Linked DNA regions of Homo sapiens: regions 1, 2, 3, 4, 6 and 7 are each linked to region 5. Evidence: promoter capture Hi-C in 16 types of primary human blood cells and fetal thymus (Javierre and others, 2016). All regions are on one chromosome and are shown on one strand. The core of a region is centred on a gene start or on the middle of the fragment in contact, and the rest is flanking DNA. Distances in the headings are between cores, read along the strand shown. Region 1 has its middle 6.6 kb from the start of TSPYL1. Region 2 has its middle 6.0 kb from the start of KPNA5. Region 3 overlaps NT5DC1 (5'-nucleotidase domain containing 1). Region 4 overlaps NT5DC1 (5'-nucleotidase domain containing 1). Region 5 holds the start of CALHM6 (calcium homeostasis modulator family member 6). Region 6 overlaps ZUP1 (zinc finger containing ubiquitin peptidase 1). Region 7 overlaps RSPH4A (radial spoke head component 4A).

What was found. Contacts are between HindIII fragments. The CHiCAGO score rates a contact against its expected background, and 5 or more counts as called.
Region 1: a fragment that was not itself captured here is called in contact with the fragment with the promoter of CALHM6 in region 5 in 9 of 17 cell types (naive B cells, total B cells, monocytes and 6 more); the score reaches 19.0 in naive B cells.
Region 2: a contact is called between a fragment that was not itself captured here and the fragment with the promoter of CALHM6 in region 5, in 2 of 17 cell types (monocytes and total B cells). The highest score is 8.5, in monocytes.
Region 3: a contact is called between a fragment that was not itself captured here and the fragment with the promoter of CALHM6 in region 5, in 4 of 17 cell types (total B cells, neutrophils, monocytes and 1 more). The highest score is 8.9, in total B cells.
Region 4: a fragment that was not itself captured here is called in contact with the fragment with the promoter of CALHM6 in region 5 in 8 of 17 cell types (total B cells, naive B cells, monocytes and 5 more); the score reaches 11.4 in total B cells.
Region 6: a contact is called between a fragment that was not itself captured here and the fragment with the promoter of CALHM6 in region 5, in 2 of 17 cell types (naive B cells and neutrophils). The highest score is 6.3, in naive B cells.
Region 7: a fragment that was not itself captured here is called in contact with the fragment with the promoter of CALHM6 in region 5 in 3 of 17 cell types (neutrophils, naive B cells and total B cells); the score reaches 6.0 in neutrophils.

Annotation. Positions count from the first base shown.
Region 1 is chr6:116,271,935-116,274,756 of GRCh38, forward strand. It overlaps a transcript of DSE not described here. Among named protein-coding and RNA genes, the nearest start is that of TSPYL1, 6.6 kb to the right of the region's middle. The HindIII fragment of the contact is 2,550 bases long and covers 30-2,579 here.
Region 2 is chr6:116,673,829-116,676,528 of GRCh38, forward strand. No RefSeq gene overlaps it. Among named protein-coding and RNA genes, the nearest start is that of KPNA5, 6.0 kb to the right of the region's middle. The HindIII fragment of the contact is 7,093 bases long and covers 1-2,700 here.
Region 3 is chr6:116,236,306-116,239,216 of GRCh38, forward strand. NT5DC1 (5'-nucleotidase domain containing 1) reads left to right here. Exons shown (of 12, transcript NM_152729.3): 9 at 661-779; 10 at 1,882-2,043; 11 at 2,650-2,818. Among named protein-coding and RNA genes, the nearest start is that of TSPYL4, 16 kb to the right of the region's middle. The HindIII fragment of the contact is 3,124 bases long and covers 1-2,840 here.
Region 4 is chr6:116,218,680-116,221,459 of GRCh38, forward strand. It overlaps NT5DC1 (5'-nucleotidase domain containing 1), which reads left to right. Exons shown (of 12, transcript NM_152729.3): 7 at 2,375-2,549. Among named protein-coding and RNA genes, the nearest start is that of TSPYL4, 34 kb to the right of the region's middle. The HindIII fragment of the contact is 3,347 bases long and covers 1-2,780 here.
Region 5 is chr6:116,459,925-116,462,624 of GRCh38, forward strand. It overlaps CALHM6 (calcium homeostasis modulator family member 6), which reads left to right and starts at 1,451. Exons shown (of 3, transcript NM_001010919.3): 1 at 1,451-1,505; 2 at 1,948-2,530. The coding sequence starts at 2,006. It overlaps CALHM6-AS1 (CALHM6 antisense RNA 1), which reads right to left. Exons shown (of 2, transcript NR_174951.1): 2 at 554-1,270. RefSeq lists enhancers at 1,857-1,966, 1,977-2,056 and a silencer at 2,437-2,516. The HindIII fragment of the contact is 9,761 bases long and covers 1-2,700 here.
Region 6 is chr6:116,651,064-116,653,801 of GRCh38, forward strand. It overlaps ZUP1 (zinc finger containing ubiquitin peptidase 1), which reads right to left. Exons shown (of 10, transcript NM_145062.3): 6 at 941-1,129; 7 at 509-674. Among named protein-coding and RNA genes, the nearest start is that of ZUP1, 16 kb to the right of the region's middle. The HindIII fragment of the contact is 5,992 bases long and covers 1-2,738 here.
Region 7 is chr6:116,630,722-116,633,509 of GRCh38, forward strand. RSPH4A (radial spoke head component 4A) reads left to right here. Exons shown (of 6, transcript NM_001010892.3): 6 at 1,486-2,264. The coding sequence ends at 1,720. The region is part of intron 1 of LOC124901386 (a long non-coding RNA gene); the gene reads right to left. Among named protein-coding and RNA genes, the nearest start is that of RSPH4A, 16 kb to the left of the region's middle. The HindIII fragment of the contact is 1,230 bases long and covers 638-1,867 here.

The DNA.
Region 1 (2,822 bases), core at 55-2,554, 190 kb before region 5:
GAGCACTATTACCCCTGCAAATGTCCTCAAGCTTTACCGTTACTCCCCTCAACCTTGAGGCTACCATTCCTGGGATTTCTATCACCATAAAAAAGTTTTCTATGCTAGTGAATTTCATATACATGGAATCATATAATATATATTCCTTTGACATCTTTCACTTAACATGTCTCTGAGATTCATCCATGTTGATGATCAATAGGTTGTTCCTCTTTATTGTTGAGTGGTGTTCCATTGTATGAATATACCATAATTTGTTCATTCACTCACTTGTTGGTGAACATTTGGGCTGTTTCTAGTTTGGGGCTGTTATAAATAAAACTGCTATGACCATTCCTGTGCTACATGTAAATTATACTTTATTAAAGAAAACAACAAATACCAAGTATCTATTAAAACATCTTTGGACACTTTAAAAGAGCAAATAGTGATCAACAGAAGTAAAGCATATCACTAAGAAATCATTTCCTTTTTTGGCAAGGGAATTTCAAAGACAGACGACACCTGCTGTTATGAATTTTAAAGACCTCTTTTGTTGAATTCAGGTTAATTCCATTCTGCAAGACCACAGGGGGGAAACTATGAAATAGATATACTGAAACTCTACGATATACCAGGCTCTTTGCAATAGCTGGATGTTTATAAGGTGGCAAATTTGAATCAATTTGACAAAACTGGGAAGGGAGTATGTATTCCCTAACTTAAGGAGTTCAAGAAAAGGTAAGCCATGATTCTCAAACTCAGCTGCACTTTAGGCTGTAATTTAATTGGTTCAGGGTAGAGTCTTGGCATCAGTATTTTTTGAAAGCTCAAAGCTATATATAATGATCAGCCAGGTTTGAGAACCATGAAGCTAGATGACTATTTGTCTGAATGTAAATTAAATGAGAAATTAAAATTGAGAGGAAGACAAATGGAAATTTTAATTGATTGCATATTATATGCTAGACATGATGCTTGCTGTCTAACCTCTATATTATAACTATATTAATACTTGAAATCTCTTAGCACAGTGTCAGGCGCAAAGTAAGCTCTCAAATGTTTCTGTTGTTATCTTCTCTGTAACCTTATAATGCAGTCTCCAAATGCATCCTAAAACATTAGCTTATACTGCAAGTTTTATCATCCCTACATTATGGATAAGGAAACCAAGATTCAGAGTAGTTTATTTTGGGAAATGCAATACATGGTAATTGTAAAACCGGGATTTAATCCTAATTTAAAGCTAGTATGCCTTCTCTGCCCATCAGGTCATATCTAAGACATATAGGTGTTCACAAAAATTAGTAACTTACTTAAATGACCCTTTCCTTTTTAATTGAACCATTTCCTTTTACCTGTTCTCAAAGAAATTACCTTAAATACAAATCCTAAAAAAAGTGAAGCCAAAAAGTAGACATCCACATTTTTCCTAATGTGGCTTGATAGAAACTCTTCTATAGGTCTTGACAACCTCTGAGGTCAGAGAGAATGGATTAAGATGGCCCTTCAGAGCTCAAAGCACTTAACATGGAGAAAGTACTGCTTCCAAGTAAAACACCTCCCATAATAATAAATGCATAGAGAGCATACCTGTCACTTCTATATAGTCTAGGACTTTAATTATATAATAATGTTGAAGGAAAGGAAGTCAGTCCTGAGGGGGATGGTCAACTCCTCTCAGCCAGGCTGGTCCTCTCTGAGTTTGCTTGTGTGCAGTAGATGTTTTGAATGTGTGTATTTGCTGCAGAAAAAAAGGAAACATTCAAGGAACGGTACCCCCCTCAATGAGCCTGAGTTCCTCAAGGGCAAAGACAACCTTTACTATCCCATTCAATCCTTACTTATGCTAGTATTCAATAAACAACTACTGCAAGATTACAATTACAGACCACTAATTTTCAAAAAGTATGTTTTTTTGTTTTTTTTTTTTTTTGAGACGAAGTCTCTCTTGTCCCCAGGCTGGAGTGCCATGGCTCAATCTTGGCTCACTGCAGCCTCCACCTCTTGGGTTCAAGCGATTCTCCTGCCTCAGCCTCCCGAGTAGCTGGAATTACAGGCGCCTGCCACCACACCCAGCTAATTTTTGTAATTTTAGTAGAGACGGGGTTTCACCATGTTGGCCAGGCTGGTCTCGAACTCCTGACCTCAGGTGATCCAGCCGCCTCGGCCTCCCAAAGTGCTGGGATTTCAGGCGTGAGCCACCCTGCCCGGCTGCTTTTTCAAGTAGTACGCGTTCATTGAACTGACTTAATGCAGAGCTAGACTCAGATATTTTCCTTTTCTGTTGCTAGCCAACTGTTAAAATACGACTGAAAATATTTTCTGAACATCATGTACATTTGTAAACTAAAAATAGAGCATTTGGCCGGGCACAGTGGCTCACGCCTGTAATCCCAGCATTTTGGGAGGCCGAGGCAGGCACATCGCCTGAGGTCGGGAGTTTGAGACCAGCGTGACCAACATGGAGAAACCCCATCTCTCTACCAAAAACACAAAATTAGCCGGGCGTGGTGGCGCATGCCTATAATCCCAGCTACTGGGGAGGCTGAGGCAGGAGAATCGCTTGAACCCAGGAGGCAGAGGTTGCGGTGAGCGGAAGCTTGCCATGAGCCGAGATGGTGCCATTGCACTCCAGCCTGAGCAACAAGAGCAAAACTCTGTCTCAAAAAAAAAAAAAAGAGCATTTTACTTTAGAAAATATGCATATATTGGTCTTAAAAGTCACTAAAAATTAAACCAATATAACTGTGTCAATTTGGCATCAAAATCTACCCTGCCTATATCAAGAAAGTGTTGCACAGTACATTTTGCAAAATATTCAGTGCATCTTAAGTACTCAA
Region 2 (2,700 bases), core at 56-2,555, 210 kb after region 5:
ATTTCTTATTATTTCCCAGGAAGCTCCCACCAAAATGAGGGAAGAAGCAAAGAAAGTGGAAGGTATGGGGCCGGGCATGGTGGCTCACACCTGTAATCCTAGCACTTTGGGAGGCCGAGGCAGGCGGATTGCTTGAGCTTAGGAGTTTGAGACCAGCCTGGGCAATATGGTGAAACCCCGTCACTACCAAAAATACAAAAAATTATCCGGACGTGGTGACGTGTGCCTGTGGTCCTAGTTACTGAGGAGGCTGAGGTTGGAGGATCATTTGAGCCCAGAAGGCAGAGGTTGCAGTGATCCGAGATCACACCACTGCACTCTAGCCTGGGTGACAGATTGAGACCCCATCTCAAAAAAAAAAAAAAAAAAAAAAGAAAAGAAAAGAAAAGAAAAGAAAAAAAGAAAGTAGAACGTATGGAATTCCATAAAAAACTCTACCAAGATGAGAGAGAACAGACAGGAATGAAGGCAGAAAGGAAGAAAAAGAAAGGGAGGGAGGGAGGAAAGAGGCAACTGACAGATCACTTCATGTTTATGACCATACTGAGAGAAATATATTCTGTTAAGCAGAATAGTGTCCCTCAAAGATGTTTATGTCCTGGCCAGGCATGGTGGCTCACACGTGTAATCCCAGCACTTTGAAAGGCCAAGGTGGGAGGATTGTTTAAGGCTAGGAGTTGGTGACTAGCCTGGCCAACATAGTGAGACCCGCCCCCCCCGTCTCTAATATTAAATTTTTTTAAAAGATTCTATTTCCTTATTAACAGAACCTGTGAATATCTTACTTTTCATGGCAAAAGGAATTTGTAGATGTGATTAAGGATCTTGACAAGAGGGGTTTATCTAGGTAGGCACAATGTAATCACAAGGGTCCTCATGAGAGGGAGACAGATAGGAAGGTCAGTCTTAGAAAAGGAGATGCGATAACAGAAACAGAGGTCAGAGAGATGTAATTGCTGAAAGGGGTCCAGAAGCCAAGGAATGTAGGTAGCTTCAAGGAACTGGAAAAGGCAAGGAAATGGATTCTCCCCTATAGGCTCCAGAAGAAACACAACTTTGCTGACACCTTGATTTTAGCCCAGTGAGACCCATTTTGGACTTCTGACCTCTAAAAGTGTAAGATAATACATTTATGTTATTTTAAGTCAGCAAGTTTGTGGTAATTGGTTAGAGCAGCAACAGGAAACTAATACAGATCTCCAGCAGTGTGTTTGAAGATGAGTTAGTGATGAGTAGTTAGAAAATTAAGCAAATGATAATGACAGAAAACAGGCAATTAATTTTAGAACAATAAAAAACTATACAAGGAATGTAATTTTTACATAAAAATTTAAATATTGATTTAACCAAAATAATTTTGATAGAACTATATTGGAGGATGTGCGATCAGGAAGTATGTGTAAATGTGTATGTTGGGAGGTTAGTGCAGTTATGAGTAATAAATTCTCATTTTACATCTATAACAATAGAAAATGTCTATGACTTTACAAATTAAGAAATAGCAGTGTATGATTTTAAAATATTTAATTAGAAAAGAGATACCAATAAGAATACCTAAACAAGTTGAAAATAGTAGCTTCTGGGGAGCGGCATCTGGGGATGGTCAGGTGGGAAGTGTTAATTTTCACGATAAACTTATTATTGGACCCTTTAAATGATATATTTGTATTATTTGATTACAATAAATAAAAATTTAATTGTAAATTACTACACCTTCTGGACAGGGAATAGATTATAAAGGAGTCAAGGTAGATACAGATTGCTTAATTAGGATACTACTGCAGTTTATGAAATAAATGATGGAATGCTAGAAGAAGTGTCAGTAGAGATGGACTAGGTGTAGATGTGGACTATTTTGGAGCTAGAAGCGAAAGACAGGAGGCACTGGTAAGGGCAAGGTAAAGAATGATTCATAAGTTTTTTAACTGGAGTTTCTGGCTGCGTAGTTGTATCATTACAGAGATAAAGAGGCCTGAGAAAGAAATAAAGTGGAATGGGATAGAATAAAAAAATCTGTTTTGGCTTATTAAATTTGAGATGCCCATCAGACATCCAAATGGAGGTTTGATATATGAGTTTAGACCTCCAGGAAGAGGTCAGGGATGGAAATTTGAATTTGGGAGAAAGTGGTTTATAGGTAGATGGCTTTTAAAAATACAGGAGTATGTTGTATCACCTAGAGAGGCAATGCAGCAAAGTAAGAGGCCTGGCGCCAACATTTATAGGTTGCTTAAAGGAGGAAGACTAAATAAGGAGGATGAGAAAGAAGAGGCATGAAGCTGAAAGAAGGCCATTCATTTCTTTATCTTTGGAAAACTGAAAAAGTATGTGTGGTAGAACCTTTGGTACACTGCCCAAGTTCTGGTTCAGGACTAAAGGATTTTCTTCCCCCAATGATGAGGGCTCTAGGCCAAGTTCCACTTCAGAAACTGCACTCTGGTCAAAGGGAGCTGCTGCCTCACCCAAGATTAACCCTCCTCTCTGGATTTGATTCAGTGATATCCAAAGACTTCTTGATTCAGTGATAGAAACATGAGCCTCTAGCCTCAACAGTGACAATTCTGAAGGGCCATCCCAGCTTCTGCACTTCCTATAAGATTGTCTGAAGTCTCTGTTGCTAATAATGCAACATAATTTATCTCTCTGTAGAATCCTGCTTCCTCACTCCTGTTATTATTCCCAAAGAGCACTCTGCAATAA
Region 3 (2,911 bases), core at 29-2,528, 220 kb before region 5:
TCAGCTCACGTACAAGTAATAGAATAGCCGGCAAAATTCAGAGAGGCAAAGACATTTACCTCTTTCACTAGCCCTGCTTTAACAGGAGTAGGAAGGTAATGTGCTGGGAGAGGACAACTTGGAATGGTCCACAAACTTGTGCTTTGGCATCAGATAGTCCTTTCATTCCCCACCCACCCCAAGCTGGTACTAGGGTAAAGCATTTGAGGCACCAAGGGTGCAAAATTTACATCTGAATCTGATAGACTACTAATTAAAAACTTACCTTCCTCACCCTCAATTCTAAAAAATTAACACCTAATGACTTTCATTGTGTTATTTATTTGGTAAACCGTTTTGTAGCAGTAGGGGCATGATGTCAAGCAGAGGCATGATGTCAAGCAGATGTCTGTCTAATCACTGAATAAATCACTTACCAGCATTGAGATCCTGGGCAAAATAACTTCCTTGAACCTTATTTTCCCCAATTAAGAAGGCCACGGGATTAAAAAGTATATACCTATAAGGGCCTTATAATATGTAGGTACCACTGAATGTCAGCTCCTTTCCCCACAAGGTTCTTGTTTGTACATGTCCTGTAGCCATGCCCTAAGTGTGGTCTGCCCAACTGGCTACTCTCACTTGATTAAAAAGTATATGATTGTCAAACTGTATTTTCAGAGAATGATGAGGAGCAGGAGGCACTGCCATCTCTGGATAAACCTGGCTGGTACTCCCAAGGGAACGCTGTCCACCTCTATGAACTTCTGAAGAAAATGACTGGCAAACCTGAACCCAAGGTATTTCCCAGTTGAGGAGAAGTCCTCAGTGCCCACTTGCAGACATAAGCAGTTGTGAACTGCCAAATCTCTCCTCTTAATTCTTCTGCTTAAATAAGCCTTTCCTTTGTCAATGTAGACAGGCTGTCTATCTGTGATAGAGAGGAGCAAGGATTCCAAGCAGGGCACCACAGATTTAGGGGGTGTATGAGTGTGTAGGATGCCTGTGGAATGTTATCCTGATAACAATCTATCCAAAAAGTTTCCATATATAAAACAAACAACTGAAATTATGCTACAGACTAGCTTAAAGATACACTTGTTTTTGACAGAATGATCACATTGTTGATGTTGGACATTGGTGCATTTCTAACAGCAGAACCCTTTCTTCTAAGAAAATATTTACCAGAATTTCTGTGAGCTGAGAGATCGTGGGGTAACAGAGCCCTGCTCCATTGGCTGTCACCATGCCACAGTCTCCTGGGGACTCCTGAGGGTTAATGGATGGAGCAGTCTGACTTGCAGATGCTGATTCTCATATCCCTTAACTCTGTTTTCACATCTGAAAATTGAGAGGTATGGACTCAATCAATGGAGTCCTCAGACTCCATTGCCTCAGACTACCTAGGGAACTTTCCAGATTCAACATGCCCAGCCCCACTCTCACAGATTCTGTTTCAACCAGTCTGGGGTTGGGCCCAGAAACTTGAAAAGTGGTTGTGATTTGCACTTTTAATAATCTCTAATCCACTATAACAAGTTGTCTCTAATACCTCACCAGCTCTTCAACTGCAGGGGCCATTTTATTAATAATTGTAAACATCTATGTAAACATATAGGTTCACTTCTTTAGGAAAATTGAATAAAATCACTTATTTCACCTTATGCTGTCTTCCACCTGTGAATGTGTTGTATAACTTCTTAAGACAAATCTGGCACCCTGTGAATCAAATGAGACAAGTTGATGGTCACCTGTGAGATTATTCAAATAAGTGAAGATGTTTATGCAATTTTTGATTGTCATACTCTGATGCCTGTTGAGAAATTTTCTTCTTCCTTATATGAAATAAATGCCACTTTCACAATTCTGTGCCTCAAACAGCATCTGCTATCTGTCTTACAGGTTGTTTATTTTGGTGACAGCATGCATTCAGATATTTTCCCAGCTCGTCACTATAGTAATTGGGAGACAGTCCTCATCCTGGAAGAACTCAGAGGGGATGAAGGCACGAGGAGTCAGAGGCCTGAGGAGTCAGAGCCTCTAGAGAAGAAAGGAAAATATGAGGTAAGGGTTCCCTGCAGCTCTTTCCTTGAAAGACAAATATTTATGTTTGAAAGCTAAAGTATCTTTATACTACTTGACTCCAAAATTGTCCTGGTCAGGCTGAATACCATCATGTTAAAAAAAAAAAAAAAAAAAAGAGACTAATAATTTGAAACTTTGTATTAATTTTATTGACTTCATGTTCCATTTGTATTGAAAGCAATAAATAATAATTCCATCCTCATTCCTTTCTAAAAAATAAATACTAAATATGAAAATTAGACCAAGTTGTTTTTTAACTACCCTTTAGACATCATCATCATCATAATAGAATAGAGAGTTATTTTTATTATAGGGAAAAAATTATGTTTTCTAGGTTGCTTTGTTTGGGCTAGTTTTCAGATAATAACCAATTGACCATATAAAAAGCTAGTTTGTGTTTAAAATAAAGGATACTTCATAATAAGGAGGAAATATTATTCCTGTTCCAAAAATTTAATGTGGGCCCAAAGCCTATTTGTAGATTCCTACAGGGTTTCAAAGTTTTTATTTACTTAATAGACAAAAAAATTATGAGATTGAACATTAGTTAATCACCATTTTAATTATTCTGTTCTCTTGTTTCAGGGACCAAAAGCAAAACCTTTAAATACTTCATCTAAAAAATGGGGCTCTTTTTTTATTGATTCAGTTTTGGGACTGGAAAATACAGAAGACTCCTTGGTTTATACATGGTCTTGTAAGAGAATCAGTACTTACAGCACTATTGCAATTCCAAGTATTGAAGCAATCGCAGGTAAGGGGGAAAATACCTATAAAGCTTCACCTGTTACTAGACAATAATGACCAGTACTAGAATTCTTGTCTTTAAGAAAAAGAAATGTTGCCA
Region 4 (2,780 bases), core at 178-2,677, 240 kb before region 5:
TTAAAAATAGATCCTAGAGATTCACACACAGAAGTTCCTGTAGGGCAAAATATAAAAAGAGCAAAAACTTTGTTTTTGTTTTTGGTCTTCTAAATATTATTCTCATATTGCAAAATATTATTTCTTTTGTTAGTTTTGGTCTGGTTATGATATTCATGCAATATATTTTCTGAATCATGATGCTTTAAGTTGCAAATAATAAATAACCTTAATGTTTAAGCTATTACTAAATTGAGTTATTTTACACAACCAGAGGTTGTCCAGAAGTTGAATGGTACTTCCAGTGGTGGTTAGAGTTAGTCAGTGACTTAATCAGAAATCCAGTGGTGGCCAGGCACAGTGGCTCATGCCTGTAATCACAGCACTTTCAGAGGCCCGAGGTGGGAGGATCACTTGAGCCCAGGAGTTTAAGGCTGCAGTAAGTCATGATCGTGCCACACTGCACTCCAGTCTGGCCAACAGAGCGAGACCCTGTCTCAAAAACAGAAACAAAAGCAGAAACCCAGTGATGTCATCAGGGACCCAGGTTTGTTTCCTTTCATATGTCCACTCCGCCATCTCTGGTATATCAGACTCGTGCTTTGTGTTGATGATAACCGCTGCAGTTCTACATAGAATTTATAATCATGGGAAAGTCCAGTAGTAGAAGAGGGGATATTCCCCCCTTTATAGGTTTATTTTTATCAGTGGTATACATTACTTCAGGATCCTGCAGCAAAGTTCTCCTCAGGTCTCATTTGCCATGCCTGGGTCCCCAGCACTTCCTAAACAATTCAATGACAGGAGGAGGGAATAACTGTGATAGGTGTAGACTGATAGAGACCCTTGCCCTTCCTAGCATCACAGACCCCCTCAGAGGAAGATGAAACCCGAAACAATATCAGAGCACTCCCCAGCAAAGAGGGAGATGGATGTGGGGAGGCAGACCACAATATTTGCTACCGTTTTTTGTTTTTATTTGTTCGTTTTTGTTTCACTTAAAGACTCTTCTTCCTGGCCAGGCATGGTGGCTCATGCCTGTAATCCCAGCACTTTGGGAGGCAGAGTGGGCGGATTGTGAGGTCAAGAGATCAAGACCATTAGACCATTCTGGCAAACATGGTGAAACCCCGTCTCTACTAAAAATACAGAAGTTAGCTGGGCGTGGTGGCACACGCCTGTAGTCCCAGCTACTAGGGAGGCTAAGGCAGGAGAATCACTTGAACCCGGGAGGCGGAGGTTGCAGTTAGCCAGAGATCATGCCACTGCACTCCAGCTTGGTGACAGAGTGAGACTCTGTCTCAAAAAAAAAAAAAAAAAAAAAAACAACTCTTCTTCCTGATGTCCTGATATTCTTGAAATATAACTGCCAAGTATTTCAAGTGTTTCACACTGGAGAGAGTCACGGATGTATCCCATATCTAGCTATTGCAGACTCTATCATTCAGTACAAGCTGTTTAACCTTTTTTTTTTTTTTTTTTTTTTTGTCTATGCATGTGTCCTTTTCCTAACAATTAGAGAAAGTAAAATCTTGAATCCTTTTTATCTGCTTACTAGTTCTATCATGCTCTGAGAACAGTATGTGTTATGAATCTAGTAACATTTCAACTAAATCTGCAATTGCCTGCTAAGTACCCACAACTTTAAAGGCATTGGGTCAAGCACTATGGGTAAGTCTGGTCAGGACATCTGGAAACACTGCCACCATCTGCCCTGGAGCTCAGCCAGACCCCGTGGCCACTCTAAAGGGGCAGAGCAAGCAACCCCGCTTCAGTGATGCGAGTCATTCATTGTTCCCTGTCAAATACAGTGCCTTTTGGCCTGTTCTGGCCTATTTTGCACCGATTTTTCCATTTTGATATCTCAGCACTTCTCAGAGGCTATAGAATGGCTCCCCTAGTATAGATTCCATCTGAAATAGCAAACTGTGACTCTGAGGAACTCATCGCCCTTCTTGGCTATTTATGCAAAAGATGTGATCCTGGTGCAATATCTGAGTGTTGATTTGTTTCTTGTCTGTATTCAGCAAATATTCATTGAATAATTAAAAGAGTATTTGTAACAATTGATATTTCAAATGTAAGGTTTTCTCTTACAGCATTTGAAAATGCTGATCATATTGTGTTTCTTGTGTTACCTGTTTTAACAGTTTATCAGTTCTTGTCAAATAGCCAGCGAATATTATCAACTAACATTTTCAAACAATATTGTGTTTTCAAGTAAAGAACTATTCTTAAAAAGCAAGTAGTATTGGCATAATTGCTAGGTCGGTCAAACCTTGTTCTTATCCTTTTAGTTTTATCTATAGATTTGAAAGAGATTAACTTGTTAGAGAATATATTTAGTCAAAAAATGTTTAAAAAGAAAAACCTCATTGATATTTTTATTTTTCAGAAAACTGTGGAATATATTTTCCAGAAATAAAAAGAGATCCAGGCAGATATTTACATAGTTGTCCTGAATCTGTGAAAAAATGGCTTCGACAGCTAAAGAATGCTGGGAAAATTCTTCTGTTAATTACCAGTTCTCACAGTGATTACTGTAGACTTCTCTGCGAATATATTCTTGGGTGAGTGATGAGTCATTCAGTTTTCATTGTCTTATGAAATACAGATAGCAAATTAGACCAGGGCTTTTTTAAAAGTGTCAGCCATGACCATATCATTATTTTAAACAATGCTGAGTGACAAGTTGATTTTTTTTCTCATGACATACCTCAATCTCTGCTGACAGCAGCCCAACCAAGTACATTTTAGCAAAGCAGTGTTATTGGGGACCAGTATGCTCATAGCTCACCGAA
Region 5 (2,700 bases), core at 201-2,700:
AGCCATCTGCACAAAGGTTGTGGATATAGTGATGTTTCTGCATGATGGAATATGGGAAAGGGTGGACGAGAGAGGACACATCTTAGAGTATTATGGTAGAGGTGAAGAAGAGTCCAGCAGTAAGAGGAGAGTTACTCAAGGCACAGGGGAAGAAATTTATCTTGGGAGATGACAAATTACAAAGATAACAGTCAGAGCAGAAGTGATTCGCTTCAAACACGCAACTTTGCTGCAAGTTGACAGGAAGCCTAGCAGTATCTGGTCTAATCTCAGAGAAGAGGGCCCCAACTTTCCTGCATGACCATGAAGACCCTCATCTGGGGCTGGCCCCTAAACACATAGAAAAAAGATGTCTATTTACCACATCACTATGGAATGACAGCTTTTGGCACTACGCTAGGCACCCTGCTGGTGGTGTTGGAGAGGGAGTAGTTAAGAAGGCAAGTTGGACTAAGAAAAGAATAATACATTTCTTGTCCATTCTCTAAAAATTCACTTGGTTCCATGGGCTACCTATTCTTTCCAGATAAAATAAGGCAAGCCTGGTGGATGGGCACCAATAAGAACCATTTCATTGTGAACTGCCCACCCAAGCTCCATATCCAGATACTCTCCTTGTGGTGAAGCAGACAGCTAAGGTGTACACCAATTCTCTTAAGGTAGCAGAGTCATTGAGTCACTTAATACTATCCACTGAATTGATCCTCGTTTAAAATTCAAAATTCAGTATTCATCAAGATTCTTAGGTTATGTACAATGTAATTATTTGTTGTCTATTCCCCAAATTGCATTTTAAGGGGAAAACTCTCACACTGATCATTCATTTAACAGACATATCCTATATGTAAAGGCACTTTACATATGCTACTCAATCTACTCATGTCAGTAATCTTGAAAAGTGGGCACTATTATCCTTCTTTTACAAATAAGGATGCTGTGTCTCAGAGGGGCATACTTGTTAAACACACCACAGACAAGATGCACTTGACTTCAAAGCCCATGTTCTTTCAAGCACACCTCAGCTCAGTCTGGAGTCACACAGAGTAAGGCTCAATATCACAAAAGTGGTTACAGTGTTTGTGTCAGAACAACGCTGCTTGAGAAAACTGAAGGTGGAGGAAACAACATTAGATAGATGTAGCTGCAGTTTGAAATTTTGGGTTCAACTAGCATTCTTTGAATAATCATGTATCCCCTTCTGTGCAGATCAGCTTGGTGGTCAGAGTCAGAATTTTACTCTCCTCCAGGCATTGACAGTGTTATGACATATCTGAAAGAAAAGAACATTGTATTGACGAGTAAATCAATACAGTATATTTGGTCTAATGTCCTGAAGGAGATCAGGCAGAGGAGAGAAGAGTCAGTGTGAACTAGGCTGGTGGCTCTGTCCGGTAGGGAGATGGAAAGGGTGCCGCCCATCATAGAAGTACCAGAACTTGAGCTGGACTTTGCTGATTTAGCTTATGGAAGAGGAACCAGAAATTTGTCCTTGAATAATGTTTCCCGTAAGTAATCAGTTTTTTGATAATTATTTGGTTTTACTGTGATCTGGCTTAGTAACTAGGGTGGCTGCAATAGAGGAAAATCTGGTATTTCCCAGTTTTTCCAACTGGCGGCCGTGGGTCAAGAAGGTTAGTTTCCTGGTTCGTTGTCAGATTGGTGGTAATAAAGGAACAAGGTCAACCTTCTGTCAGAGTTCCTGAATTGGGGGAGGAAGATAACTGGTGCCTCTGCCTTTGGAATGGGGTGGGTGCCAGAGAAGTCAAGGTCCTGGGGGTGTTTGCTTGCCTGGTTCTGTTAACCAGAGGTGGTGTGGCTGAAATGAGAAAGTGAAACTTTAGGAAGGTCTGAGAAGCCCTCTTCCCTTTAAAAAAAAAAAAAAAAAGGCTGCTTCTCGCAGAGTGGAAAGCCCCGGTCCCCATCCCACCAAAACCATTTGACAAGCAGGACAACGAAGAGGCAGAAGGATCTGGGCCTGTGCGCGACGCCCCGGGGGACGAGGCTCATGGAGAAGTTTCGGGCGGTGCTGGACCTGCACGTCAAGCACCACAGCGCCTTGGGCTACGGCCTGGTGACCCTGCTGACGGCGGGCGGGGAGCGCATCTTCTCCGCCGTGGCATTCCAGTGCCCGTGCAGCGCCGCCTGGAACCTGCCCTACGGCCTGGTCTTCTTGCTGGTGCCGGCGCTCGCGCTCTTCCTCCTGGGCTACGTGCTGAGCGCACGCACGTGGCGCCTGCTCACCGGATGCTGCTCCAGCGCCCGCGCGAGTTGCGGATCGGCGCTGCGCGGCTCCCTGGTGTGCACGCAAATCAGCGCGGCCGCCGCGCTCGCGCCCCTCACCTGGGTGGCCGTGGCGCTGCTCGGGGGCGCCTTTTACGAGTGCGCGGCCACCGGGAGCGCGGCCTTCGCGCAGCGCCTGTGCCTCGGCCGCAACCGCAGCTGCGCCGCGGAGCTGCCGCTGGTGCCGTGCAACCAGGCCAAGGCGTCGGACGTGCAGGACCTCCTGAAGGATCTGAAGGCTCAGTCGCAGGTCTGCCGCTGGCGCTGGGGGCGTTTGGGAGGAGCCGAGAGGCCGAGCTTTCTCAGGGCCGCTGGGGTGAGGGAAAAATCGGTGACTTTTCTCCAGATATACAGTACCCTAAGAAAATCTAGAATGGCTCCTTGCATCTAATTTGCCGTCAAGAGAATATCTGAATAAAA
Region 6 (2,738 bases), core at 209-2,708, 190 kb after region 5:
AGGTAGAGTGCAAAAACTTGAGGCCATGATGTCGTCACATATTATAGTAAAAGAGAAAAGGAAACACAATTATTAACTCAAGAAAAATTATAAATGATTTTAGAAAAAATCAGCAACAAGCAATATTTACACAATTGTATAATAAAATCTGACTTTATAAAATGATGTAAACTCTGATTTTAATAAAAACCAAGATTTAATCATATCAGAAGGATTGAAGGTAAACAGGTATAAGATATTAAAACAGACTATCTGAAACTCATAAACCAAGAAACAGCTATGAAAGCATACCATTTAAAAACAATGGAAGTGACAGTTGCCTCTGAGAGACAGAACTTGAGGGTAGAGAAGAGCACAAGATAGTGAATAGGCTGCTGATTTTCATTGCTACTTAATTTAGTGCTACTTAATTTTATTTTTAAACTATCTCTTTGCTAAAAAATAAAATTTTACAAAACAAAGCTCCCCGATAAGGAAATAACATTTATTTAGGTTTTAAGGTACATACTTTACCCTTAGGGAGGTCAGGAGTATATATACTTCACATGCTCCAATCCAGGCCTTTGTTCCCTGTAACCTGTTATTAAGTTGAGAGGCCCCCTGAGGATCAAAACCTTCCTTCCATGCATCTTCAATCATAGATTGAATTTTTGGAATGCAAGGAATCAACATACCTAAAATTACACAAGCAAACATGTTACATGACTGTTAATAAAGTACTGAATAATATTTAGCAGTGTATTATGTACTCGGGGAACTTTACGGTTTTTAAGACAGTTATTCCTGACATCTTCTATCATTTTCTCTTCCTCTAACCAGAATTCAGGTTTCTTATATAAATATCCACTAACTGTTAAAGCTATTAATTGTGTATGCTATATCATTCTATATCATATGTATTTTATCAGATGACAAGTTCAGAGTACTAGATTTCACATACCTTTTAAGCAATCGTTGTAAGCATCATTTTGTAATAATGATGAAAGTAGCATTTGGAAATTTCTGTAACCACAACCCCAACCTTTGTCGCCTAAAGATGAATGAAAGTGATCCACCACTGAAGAAAGCCACACCCGTCTCACATCTGTGGCAGCATTCTGATAATACCTATGAAGTGCTTCAATAATTCCTAAAGTAGAAAAGAGATTCAGAAGCAGTCATTATCACCTTTATATTGCTATCTCATACATTTTTAATATCAACCTCTCCTTCACGCACCATACCTAAATCCTGTTAATTCCATCTTCTTCACCTTCTTCTTGCTATAACCTTAGTTTGTGTCCTTGCTTGTTACTACAGTCCAAGTTTCCTAACACTAGCATATTATTTATTACAGTTCATTGAAATTTTCTGCATCTGCAGGGCCCAGCACATAAAGTACAACTGTTGAATGAATGTTCTTCTTGTGTCTCCATTTTATTGTATAGACTACTGGAGATCACTCAGTCTTAATCAATTTGCTCCCAATCAAAAAATATTAATAGCTCCCTATTACCAATAGTTTTAATTTTTTTGTAATTTAAGATTTTATTTTGCAGATTTTGCAATTTTCGAAGCATGAGAATACACAAATGTTTTCATTTAAAAACTCTTGACTTCATGAATAATAAACATATCTCATACTCCAATACGCTAAATTTCAACCCTTTAGTAACATATTCCATTTTGCTATTTGGGGAGATTAATTAATTTGTTTGAGACAACAGAAGACAACTTTTCTTAAGGCAGAACAATAGGTTTAGGAATCTTATTAATAGCCTTATAAACCTAATTAGAATAGTTCTAATCTATGTTATATGAAGTCTACAGAAAGCTATCCACTGTCTTATCTTTATTTCACACTACTCTTCTTGCTGTAATTTTGGCTGTGGCCTAACTGAACACATTAAACATAATTTGGCCCATAGAGTTTTATTAAATTTTCAAATTCAGTATTTGCTAAGTACTTTTTAATACACCTGGCACTATCTAAATGCTAAGTACAAAAAGATAAATATGATAATATCCTTTAAAATGTCATCGACCCCAACTATAACAAGTGCTATAATATGGAAAAACAAGGTGTTAGGACAAGGGACATCTGACTCGGCCCCTTTCCTGCTTTTAGTATATTCTCCTTATGTTTCAAAATTATAGATCCTTCACATGCTACTGTCTTCATAGACCCTTTTTCTGATTCTACCCTATTTTTGTGTCCCCAAGGTACCAGCAACATTCAGTCACAGAATACTATAATTCTTTGTGTATATTTACATACTCTACAGACTCTGTGAAGCCTATGGGTAGGGAGATCTTATTATATGCCCCATAACTTTCTCATAGCATGTGGCACCAAAGACAATAACTAAATTCTTTTTGCTTGAATGAAGGGTTTCCTAGAAGAAAATGGGTTTTTGTCTTTAATAAAGACAATAAAAGATCAATAAATAAAAACAGTTAAATGAACCAATAGTTGTAGCTGTGCCTTGCACCATGAAAAGGTGAAATACTGATCACTGTAACCACTTCCAAAGAACTTAGAAAGACTTGAATTCAAGAAAAACAACAATTAAAATAGTATATAACTGAGTACTAAATGTTGTAGCATGGAATGAATGGGTACCCTAGGAATTCAGAGAAAGAAAGCTAAATGTAGATTTTAATATCATAGACTTTGATGAAGAGATCAAGATTTGAGGCAGCCCTTTAAGAATGAGGTGGAGTAGGGGACAGAAAAAATAGAAAGGAAAGTAATAAAC
Region 7 (2,788 bases), core at 3-2,502, 170 kb after region 5:
GAGTGCAGTGGCATGATCTCGGCTCACTGCAACCTCCGCCTCCTGGGTTCAAGCCATTCTCCTGCCTCAGCCTTCCCAGTAGCTGGGATTACAGGCATGCACCACTATGCCCAGCTAATTTTTGTATTTTTTTTTTTTTTTTTTTTTTTAGTAGAGACAAGGTTTCACCATGTTGGCCAGGCTGGTCTTGAACTCCTAATCTCATGATCCGCCCCGCCTCAGCATCCCAAAGTGCTGGGATTACATGTTTGAGCCACCATGCCCAGCTGCTACTATCGTTTTAACTCATCTTTGGCATATTATGTGTGTGTGGCATAAAATTTATTAAAATAACATCTGTGATACACAATAAAACATCAAATTCAGGACATTAAGTAGTAATTTGGACTTTTACCCTTTCATCTTAATTATCCAATTTGTTGAAATAAAATATGGTTTTTCATCATTGATTATTTGGGTAATGACTTATTCACTTAGTAGATTAATGGAGGTATTTCTAAGCAATGTTTAGTTTAAATCTCAGATCATTTCTGGAGAGAAAGCTGAGCGGCCAGGTGTTAGAGTAGCCATTAAAGCAACAAGCTAAAAATGAGAGTTAAGCCTTTAATCATTTACTGTGATAGTATAAACAAGAGAAAGCTTTGACATCCCCCTGTTCCATTTTCCCCCATGGAATGGCCCTCTATTGGAGAGTCAGGTGGATCAGCACAGATATGGCTATCATAGATGTGGAGGTGCTGGGGTCATCTCATTGACAAGGGAATCCTCAAACGGCTCCTGCAGTTTTACAGACCTGGAGACCAAGAGGAGGATGAGAGGGCTAGAAGTGAAAAAGTGCTGAGCACAGAGAGCAGAGAAAGGAGGGGCTGGAAAGGCCTCTGCTGAAGGCCTCAGATAAAGAGACCTAGGAACGGAAGCACCTGGTCTAGGAATGCAAACATTGAAGAGCATGACGAGCCAAAGGGGCCAGCGTCCTTGACTGCAACTTCCCGTAAAGACAGCAGTGCATTGTACTCCAAGTCTGATGTGCCAGGTAAACTCTTTGTGATTGCCTATGGTCATGCCTAAAAAAAAGTAACACATAGGTTTCTAACCACAAGCCCAACTCCTTGCCCAACCAGGAGTTTGCACAGTTAGCTATTTTTATATCTTTCTAACTTTGTGGAAGGTAGTAACTTTTTTTTTTCCTCCCCTGAAAATAATTGAAGGAAGAAAGGCTTTTGCTTGTGGTCTAGGTGTAGGGTACATTTTAACAGTATCTGGCCCCATGGTTTTTTTTTTTAACCAGCTTAGGCAGTTTGGATGAAAACAATTCCCTGTGGTAGAAGAATCATTGAGGAATATTTCACTTCTAGCATTTTACATGTATTGCTTTTTTAAATTATAGGACCATGATATTCTAAGCACTTTAATATTACAGAAGGGTCAGTTTTTCTGAGAAATTATATAATGATCTTTTTTTCTTCTTCTTTTTCTTACTTATAGAAAGTTTGAAAATTTCTACATAGGCTGGGGTCATAAGTATAGTCCAGACAATTATACACCCCCAGTTCCACCACCAGTTTATCAAGAATACCCCAGTGGACCAGAAATTACAGAAATGGATGATCCTAGTGTGGAGGAGGAGCAGGCTTTCAGGGCTGCACAAGAAGCAGTTCTACTCGCAGCTGAGAATGAAGAATCTGAGGAAGATGAAGATGAGGAAGATGATTATGACTAATAAACATAAAATTAGCCTGGTTTTATGTGACACTGATACACACACACCCCTTATATGGGACTAATTTTACACTTTTCTGTGTTATGTGTGTATATACATACACATGTAAGAAATTATTCAACTGCAAAATCTCAATCTTGAAAATCAAGCTTGAAATTTCATAGGTAGAAATATTAGCATTTTTATTGAAAGATACTCACAGGATTTTCCAGAGGCTAAATAACATGCAATTGCATAATTGTTCTGAGGGTTATGGATAATGGAATATGTGTTTGTACATTCCTGTTTTTAAAAGGGCTCAGGTTTCACATGGTCCAGGTGAGGTAAAACAATTAAAATAAATAAATAAATGGTCTCAGGTTTAATTTGTAATACGACAAACACTGGAAGATATAACCCACAGGAAATTCTTGGAAACATCAATACTTTTTAAAGAGTGTCAAGGGGTATGAAGACAAAAAATATTGATAGTCACTAGAGTAATGTATTCTTAACCTTTGTAAGAACTGATCTCAGCATGTATTCTTAAACCTTTGTAATTACCTATGGTGTGGACTGTGATATTGTGTGCAAACACTTTATAGCATATATATTCATTTTTCCTGCTTGAGATAGTATCATAATTCTGTCACCTGCTTAAAACTGTAGGAACACTCAATTTTTTTTTTTCTTTTTTTTTTTTTTTGAGACGGAGTCTCTGTCACCAGGCTAGAGTGCAGTAGTGTGATCTCGGCTCACTGCCACCTCTGCCTCCCGGGTTCAAGTGTTTCTCCTGCCTCAGCCTCCTGAGTAGCTGGGACTACAGGTGCACGCCACTACACCTGGCTTTTTTTGTATTTTTAGTAGAGACGGGGTTTCACTATGTTAGCCAGGCTGGTAAATTTTTAACTCTTTTGTTACTTCTCAAAAAGTCTTCTCAGACTCCTCTTTCATCCTACAGAAATTGATTTGAACTGATTAGGGAAAAATGATTTGCTTTGCACAGATATGGTTAGCTGGAGATAGCCAGAGACTTGACTTATATTTTCTAGCACTACTTCTCTAAAACATTATCTTCCCTCACTAAAA